Linked DNA regions of Homo sapiens: region 2 is linked to region 1. The links are contacts of gene promoters, found by promoter capture Hi-C in blood cells and fetal thymus (Javierre and others, 2016). All regions are on one chromosome and are shown on one strand. The core of a region is centred on a gene start or on the middle of the fragment in contact, and the rest is flanking DNA. Distances in the headings are between cores, read along the strand shown. Region 1 holds the start of DCP1B (decapping mRNA 1B). Region 2 holds the start of MIR3649 (microRNA 3649).

The links. Contacts are between HindIII fragments. The CHiCAGO score rates a contact against its expected background, and 5 or more counts as called.
Region 2: a contact is called between a fragment that was not itself captured here and the fragment with the promoter of DCP1B in region 1, in 2 of 17 cell types (total CD8 T cells and non-activated CD4 T cells). The highest score is 5.3, in total CD8 T cells.

The regions. Positions count from the first base shown.
Region 1 is chr12:2,002,515-2,006,380 of GRCh38, reverse strand. It overlaps DCP1B (decapping mRNA 1B), which reads left to right and starts at 1,924. Exons shown (of 9, transcript NM_152640.5): 1 at 1,924-2,099. The coding sequence starts at 1,950. It also overlaps a transcript of CACNA1C not described here. RefSeq lists enhancers at 1,649-1,878, 2,203-2,842. The HindIII fragment of the contact is 8,474 bases long and covers 1,152-3,866 here.
Region 2 is chr12:1,657,187-1,661,052 of GRCh38, reverse strand. MIR3649 (microRNA 3649) reads left to right here and starts at 673; the gene lies at 673-738. The HindIII fragment of the contact is 3,765 bases long and covers 368-3,866 here.

The DNA.
Region 1 (3,866 bases), core at 675-3,174:
GCTGGAGTGCAGTGGCAGGATCTCGGCTCACTGCAACCTCTGCCTCCCGGGTTCAAGCGATTCTCCTGCCTCAGCCTCCCGAGTATCCGGGATTACAGGTACCTGCCACCACTCCTGGCTAATTTTTGTATTTTTAGTAGAGACGGGGTTTCACCATGTTGGCCAGGCTGGTCTTGAACTACTGACCTTGTGATCCGCCCGCCTCAGCCTCCCAAAGTGCTGGGATTACAGGCAGGAGCCACCGCACCTGGCCCACTCTTAAAAATTATTAAGGACTCCCTCAGAGAACTTTTGTTTATGTGAGTTATACCCACCTATATTTACCATATTGGAAATTAAAAATAACTTTAAAGACCCCGGGCTATGTGTGTTTTGTTTGGAGTATATGAAGAAACTCTGGCCTCATATGTAGATAATGTAGTTGGAAAAGAGATGGATATTTTAATAGAGTTTTTCAGACAATTGTGGATATTCTTCTTGGATAATATACCAAAACTTGACAAGCTGGAGTTTCTCAAAGCTTAGCTGCAATGTACTATCTGAAATCCTATTAACTTTTCATACTGTTACATTAAAAATCCATTAGTCCACCTTGTCCTTGAATGGATCTTTTGCCTGTGCATGATTATGTAGCATGAGACATTGGTCTTTTGGAAAATACTGGACCACTGAGTTAAGCAGATCTTTGAGATATTGACACTTTCCATTATACAAGATTTGTTAAAATTGCGCTCATTAATATCATCACTGATCTCATCAGAAAAAAAAACATTAAGTACTGAGATGTCAAGCTCATGGCAGTAGATACACATTTTCTAAACTTTTAATTCTGGCTTGAAGGCTTAAAAATTATCATTGGCAGCAGTAATTGTCCCTTGTTTTCCTGAAAGTGACAGGCACACTTTATTTATTTTCAGAAAAATGTCTGTCAAGTACCTGTTTGAATAATCATAGTTTGCCCATCTTTCTTTCAAGTAAAAATGTTTTATGAAAATAAAAATAAAAACATGAATTCGGCCTACAACTCAAGCACAGAAGTATTTTCCTAGAGACAAATATGACACACTTCATTTTGCAGCAGACGTGCTTTATGCCTATTTCCTATTTTTTCATGCAGAATGTTAAAAAGAATTGTACCCAAGGATTAAGCTTCAATGAAATTAATAATTCTTACTGCTTATCAAGAACACCATCAGGTGACACTGGCTCTCTACCTTCTTCTTTTTTTTTTTTTCTTTTGTAACTGAGAGTGCAGATTAGTGACGCGTACTTTGACTAGCAATACAGTTTGGTGCCCCTGCCTTGATTGGGTTAAACCACCGGCGCTTTTAACCACCATTGTCTGCAAAACGTCACCACAGTGAACAAGTCAAATAAGTAAGTCTCAGCATTGTCATAAAAGGTTTTGTTTTTTTTTTGACCTTGCAGATCCCCTGAAAGGGTCTCAGAAACTCCCAAAGGGTTCCAGGACCACACCACACTTTGAGAACCACTGGGTGTTAGCGCATTCAGAAATCAATTCAGTTCTCTTTCTCTTCAGAGTTCTTGATGCTCGAGGCTTATTTATTGTGATAGATTTGATCACTGAAGCGCCAAAGAAAAGATATGCCAAGGGGTCGAACACATCCAAGAAGGAAATCCTACCGCACACACAGCTCAAAGGCTCGAGCGCGTAGAAAAACAGCTCTTGGAGAAAGAAACGGGATGCAGAGGGCAGGCCTGGGCTTGTCGTTGCCAGTGGCAACGATCCTCAGTGGGCGGGGCGCGGCCATCGATTAGTGAGGCCTTGCGTCTGTCGGCGGGCAGGAGGGTGGGGGTGACTGGAGCCGGAAGGCCTCCCGGGCCGTGTGGTCGCCGTGGGTTCTCGGTTGCGAGGCAGCTCGCTCGTTCTGCGATCTATTGAGAGTGGCTTCCAAGAGCCCCGTGCCTATGTCTGGGAGGGAGGGAAGATGGCAGCCGTGGCGGCAGGCGGCCTGGTGGGAAAGGGGCGCGACATCAGCCTAGCGGCCCTGCAGCGCCACGACCCCTATATCAACCGCATCGTGGACGTGGCCAGCCAGGTGGCTCTGTACACCTTCGGCCATCGGGCCAACGAGTGGGTGCGTGCGGACGCGGCGGAGCAGTGCAGCCCAGGGTTGGGGTGGAGGCGGGGGGCGTCAGACTCAGGACTTGAGGACCCGGTGAGGGGGAGGAGACGTTGACGCCCTGGAAGTGGGTGGATCTGGGGACTGAGGCCGAAGTTGTGGAGATGGGGTCTCGGGGGTTTGGGGGAAGGAAGGCGGATCTGTGGAGCTACCTGGAGTTGGGGAAAAGACTTAAATCTCTAACGTACCCAACGCTGGGAGACCAGACCGATCGGGTACGGCACCATAAGAGCCGAAGGAAAGGAAGGACCTGATACCTTATGGCCGGAAGACCGATGTGCTCGAGAAAGTAGAGCAGAGTTCTGTTACAGTGAATCTGTGGCTATGGGGGAGGCAGGGACAGCAGACGAATAAAAGTGCAGAGTTCTGATTTTGGAATGTCAGTCTTAGATGGGGCAAAGAGAAATCAAAACTTGATAGAAGGGGAGAAATCTGCAAGTTGTAAACTTAAGGGGAAACACCAAGAAAAGAGCCAACCTCGTCAAATAAAAGACAAAATGGGGCAGGGTCTAACACTTAGAAGGAAGCTGATGCTCTTGGGAAGATTATTACACGGCAGCACACCAAGTTCGATATTGGAGGTCATTTGGGAGCCAAATTATTTTAGTGCTCTTCTCAAAGCAGAGTCCCAGTAAATGGTAATGGAATGAAATTTCATTTTCCTCATAGTTAGAATGGGGTAGAAGCCTAGAACACTGGAATCCTGTTGCAGGGATTGCTGCTTGTAATTTTGTAACCCACCCACTCGAATGTAGAGACATGTAATTTTGTTTCTTTACTCATAATGAGTTTTGTCCAAATAATATTCATCATCCATTATGTATCACATACATGATATCCATCATTTTAAAATAAGTTACAAAACAGTATGGAGAACTTAGCCTTGATGAATGGATTTCAGATAAACTTTTTGTGTTCTTCAAGTCGGTTGTATAAACATCAAAACTTAATCTAGGAAAACATCCATGTTGAACAACTCTGTATTTTTTTTAACACCCACATTCATAAGCCTACTTATCTGCAGTATAGTTCAGCAGCCTGTAGTAAAAAACTCACCTGAAAATCATTAACATAAAAATAAAAAGACAAGCAAGAATGGGGTAGACAAACAGTTTTGCCCAAAGTTCTTAACGGAGGAAATTTGCCGGAATGGGGCAAAGAATTTAGGTCTGCTCTCCTAGTAGCCAAACACAAAAGGAGAACAGGAAGAGCTCTTTAATATTCGTTCTTCTGTAATAGAAAGTGTACCTCTTGATCAGGAGAAAGAGGTTATTTCCCCCTAGTTTCCAGGGGAATTTGTCACCTACTTTTTTTGTTTGTTTTTGTTTGTTTGTTTTTTCGAGGTGTCACCTTCGTTTTTACATAAAGAACATTGAGCAACATAGACAGTTTCCTCCATGGTAATTAAAAATATATAAAAAGATATTCTACATATGGCTATTTTGCTGCTCTGTAGAAAAATGCTAAAGGTATAATGTTATAATCCTGTAAAAGTAATTCCGTAGTAGAGAGATGAGGACCAGGGATGTATAGTTCTGTAAGTTGACTTGACACTGGGATTCGAGTCTGGAGAATCCCAAGAAACTGTCAGTATAAAGAGAGTAGAGCATTTCTCTTGAATAATAGTTGTTTCCTATAGGCTTTTGACCCTTATCAATGTGATAGATACCTTTTTAAGATAGTTACAGATGTTTATTAGATACCTAAAGCCTCATCAAAAAG
Region 2 (3,866 bases), core at 1,001-3,500, 350 kb after region 1:
TGCAACAGTGGGGTGTGAAGACCCTGAGAGCAGCACCTCCCGCCCGCATGGGGCTGCCAGGAGGCGAAGAGCCTTTACCCAGAGGGTTTTCAACTGAATGACACTGTCAAAGAAAAGCCAGGATCCACTAAGGCAAGAAGTATTAAAAGTATTTTAGGGAAAGTCATTTAAAGCTCTATAACATTGTATTTTCATGGAATCTTCTAGATTCTTCCCCTAGAATCAGAGTTAGATTTTCCATTAAGTGAATGAAGCTCAAGTTTCAGGGCCTCTCCCTCGCCTTCTAAGGCCCTGTTCATAATTCCGTATTTGTAATTATTTAAACTGCCCCACCCTGATTATATAACTTTTAGGTCCCACAAAAGCTTAGCCAGTCTCTGCCTTAGAACTCCACGAGTTGGGAGGATGAACGAACTTCCACGTTTTGATTTCCAAACAATTTCCCTACCCTTGCATTGTTAAAAGATAAACAGGAATAAGTGTTCTGGCTGTGAGTGAATTTTTTTTCTTAACATGTTTTGGCCTGGATACTATCTGAAGGTGTTACCCAAGCAGTGGGGTGACTTTGCTGACGACACAGTTACTCAATACTCCCCAGCTCAGGGTGAAGGTTAGGTGGCACGTTGGCGGGACATGTGACTCACATGCGCAGGTGTGTTCCTTGGGAGGAAGGCTTGGAACAGGCACCTGTGTGTGCCCAAGTGTTTCTAGCAAACACAGGGACCTGAGTGTCTAAGCACAGGCCCACTTTACAGGGGTCTCCTGAGAACTCCTCCCCCTCCTGAGAACTGTGCCTTCCCAGCCAGAAGTCACTCATACAGAATGTTCCCAACTTATGAATGGGCATTGTTCTCAGAAAGAGAATTTGTAAGTCAGTTGTTTAGAACGGGAAGGCATCTCCCCAGATAAACAAGTGTATGTGTGATCTTTGTTATTCAGGAAAGCCTAAAAGAACATCTTGTGTCCCAGAAATCAAGGACTGTACAATGGGAACAGAAAACTCCAGCTGGTGGAATCATGTGGCCCTCAGAAAATGCCTTCCAACTTCTAGCCTGAGATCCTGGGAATCTTCTCCACTGTCACAGACCTTCTGTGAGAAGGGGGGACGCTTCCCAGCTCCACGTCCCTGATGTGGCTGCCATGTCCTGGGGCAGAGGCCAGTGAGGAGAAGCAGCTGGGTGTAGGCGGCCAGGCCCTGGGGGCTAGAGGGGGCAGAGTCCATTCCCAGAGCTCCTTTCAGAGTCCGCTCCCTGTCCATGTCCTCTGAGGGCCCAGGGGTGGGCCTCCTTGCCTTTGCCTTCTTGAAGTTTCCTTGGCCGGGAGCAGTGGCTCACGCCTGTAATCCCAGCACTTTGGGAGGCCGAGGCTGGTGGATCACTTGAGGTCAGGAGATAAGGACCAGCCTGGCCAGCATGGTGAAACCTCGTCTCTACTAAAAAAAAATACAAAAATTAGCCGGGTGTGGTGGCGCGTGCCTGTAATTCCAGCTACTCAGGAAGCTGAGGCAGGAAAATCGCTTGAGCCTGGGAGGCAGAGGTTGCCGTGAGCTGAGATCACGCCACTGCACTCCAGCCTGGGTGACAGAGTGAGACCCTGTCTCAAAAAAAAAAAAAAAAAAAAGTTTCCTAAGTCTTTGATTCTTAGGACAAAGTGGTAAACAGACTGGGGATTTAAAAAAAAAAAAAAAAGACTCCCATGTGATGGCGGGGTGGAAGGTGGAATGCTCACTTTTCAGGTACTGGCCTTCTCAGGAAAGACCAAGACCAACATAGAGAAGGATGGTGGATTTCTGGGTATACAAAAGACCAAACAAATCCAGATCATCAAGGTTAGACCCCTTGCATTTGTGGTTGGCTTCAGTTGAGATGATTCCCAAGAGCTTACATAATAAACTTTACTTTTTTAAAAAGCATATTTTCATTGATCTTGCCATGATATAAGCAAGCTATATCTTATACACTTATCTATATCTATGTAAGATATACCATTACCCTTTTCTTTTTTAATACAGGGTCTTGCTCTGTCACCCAGTCTGGAGTACAGTGGCTCGATCCTAGCTCACTGCAACCTCAAACTTCTGGGCCCAAGTAATCCTGCTACCTCAGCCTCCCAAAGTGCTGGGATTACAGGCATGAGCCACCATGCCCAGCCTCAATATTTTAAAAGTTTATATTTTACAAAAGGCTTTCACATCCATATGATTTAATTTGAGGTAGAGAGAGTATTATTTCTGTTTTATTGCTGAGGAAACTGCCTGAATCACTTAACTAGTTGGTTGGGAAGCCAGGTCCTCTGTACTGAATCTTGTGCCCTTGCTGTTTTTAGAGGCTGATTAATCCCTGAAAGGGAGATGGGACACACAGAACCCTCTAGCTGAAATGAATCTCCAGAGAATGTCTGGTTTTCTCCCTGGCTCTAGACTCTACTAAATTCTAAAAACATCTAAATGCTCTTCTTTTCTTAAACTTCTCTGGGGAATGAAATCTATCCTCTCAGTTACCTGTCCCAGCAACAAATAGCCACTCTGTTTAGAAATCCATGCTGTAAGGCTGGGCGCGGTGGCTCATGCCTATAGTCCCAACAATTTGGGAGGCCAAGGCGGGCGGATCACCTAAGGTCAGGAGTTTGAGACCAGCCTGGCCAACGTGGCAAAACCCCATCTCTACTAAAAATACAAAAATTAGCCAGGCGTGGTGGCATGCGCCTGTAGTCCCAGCTACTAGGGAGGCCGAGGCAGGAGAATCGCTTGAGCCCAGGAGGTGGAGGTTGCAGTGAGCCGAGATCTCACAACTGCACTCCAGCCTGGGCAACGAGCAAGACTGTATCTCAAAAAAAAAAGAAAAAAAAAAAGGAAAAAAGAAAGCCATGCTGTATTTCTATCTTTGGTCTTTTTTGTTACAAAAAAGAAAAAAAGTTTGTTTAGCAGAGAAAGTGTTTTTGACTACTTTGTTGGAAACAAGCAATAAGGGGCTTGGAAGACAAAGAACTAGCCTGTGGTTACTGGGTCAGTTCACAACAGTCCACAGCAGAACTGAAATAATAACAAAGGCAAAAATGGGAACATATACATTTTCCAGAGCAATTTCTCACTTCCTATGGCAGCTAAACTTTGCAAAAACCCTGAGCTGGCACCGGGAACTGAGGAGCAAATAAAGCCTGGAAGCCTGATCCTTCTTCCTCAGAGGCTTTTGAACAATTTGACAGCAGAGCCAGGGCTGCAATTCTGGTTTCTTGACCCTGGGATTGAAAAAACCACATCTCTGACCTGGCACCTGGCATGGTGGTTTATGCCTGTAATCCCAGGACTTTGGGCTGCCAAGGCAGGAAGATTGCTTGAGCCCAGGAGTTTGAGGCCAGCCTAGACAACACAGTGAGACCCCAGTCTCTACAAAAAATTAAAAAAAAAAAAAAATAGCTGGTCATGGTAGGGCACACTGGTGGTCTGAGCTACTTGGGAGGCTGAGGCAGGAGGAATACTTGAGTTCAGGAATTCAAGACCAGCCTGGGCAATAGAGTGAGACCCTGTCTCTACAAAAAAATGAACAAAATTATCTGGGCATGCTGGCGTGCACCTGTAGTCCTAGCTATTGAGGAGGCTGAGATGGGAGGATCTCTTGAGCCCAAGAGGTCAAATCTCCAGTGAGCTATGATTGAGCTACTGCACTCCAGCCTGGGTGACAGTGAGACTCTGTCTGAAAATAAAGAAATAAATAAAGCAAGCCAAATTTCTCTGCCCATCAAAGAGTCAAATTGACTTTACAGATTAGCAGAGTTTTCACTGTGAGTTCTTAATTCAGCATGCAGCCCAGGTTCCCAAGTTCAGGACTGCTGAAGACAGCCCCTGGGGACTTTCTCAAGAGAGAAGG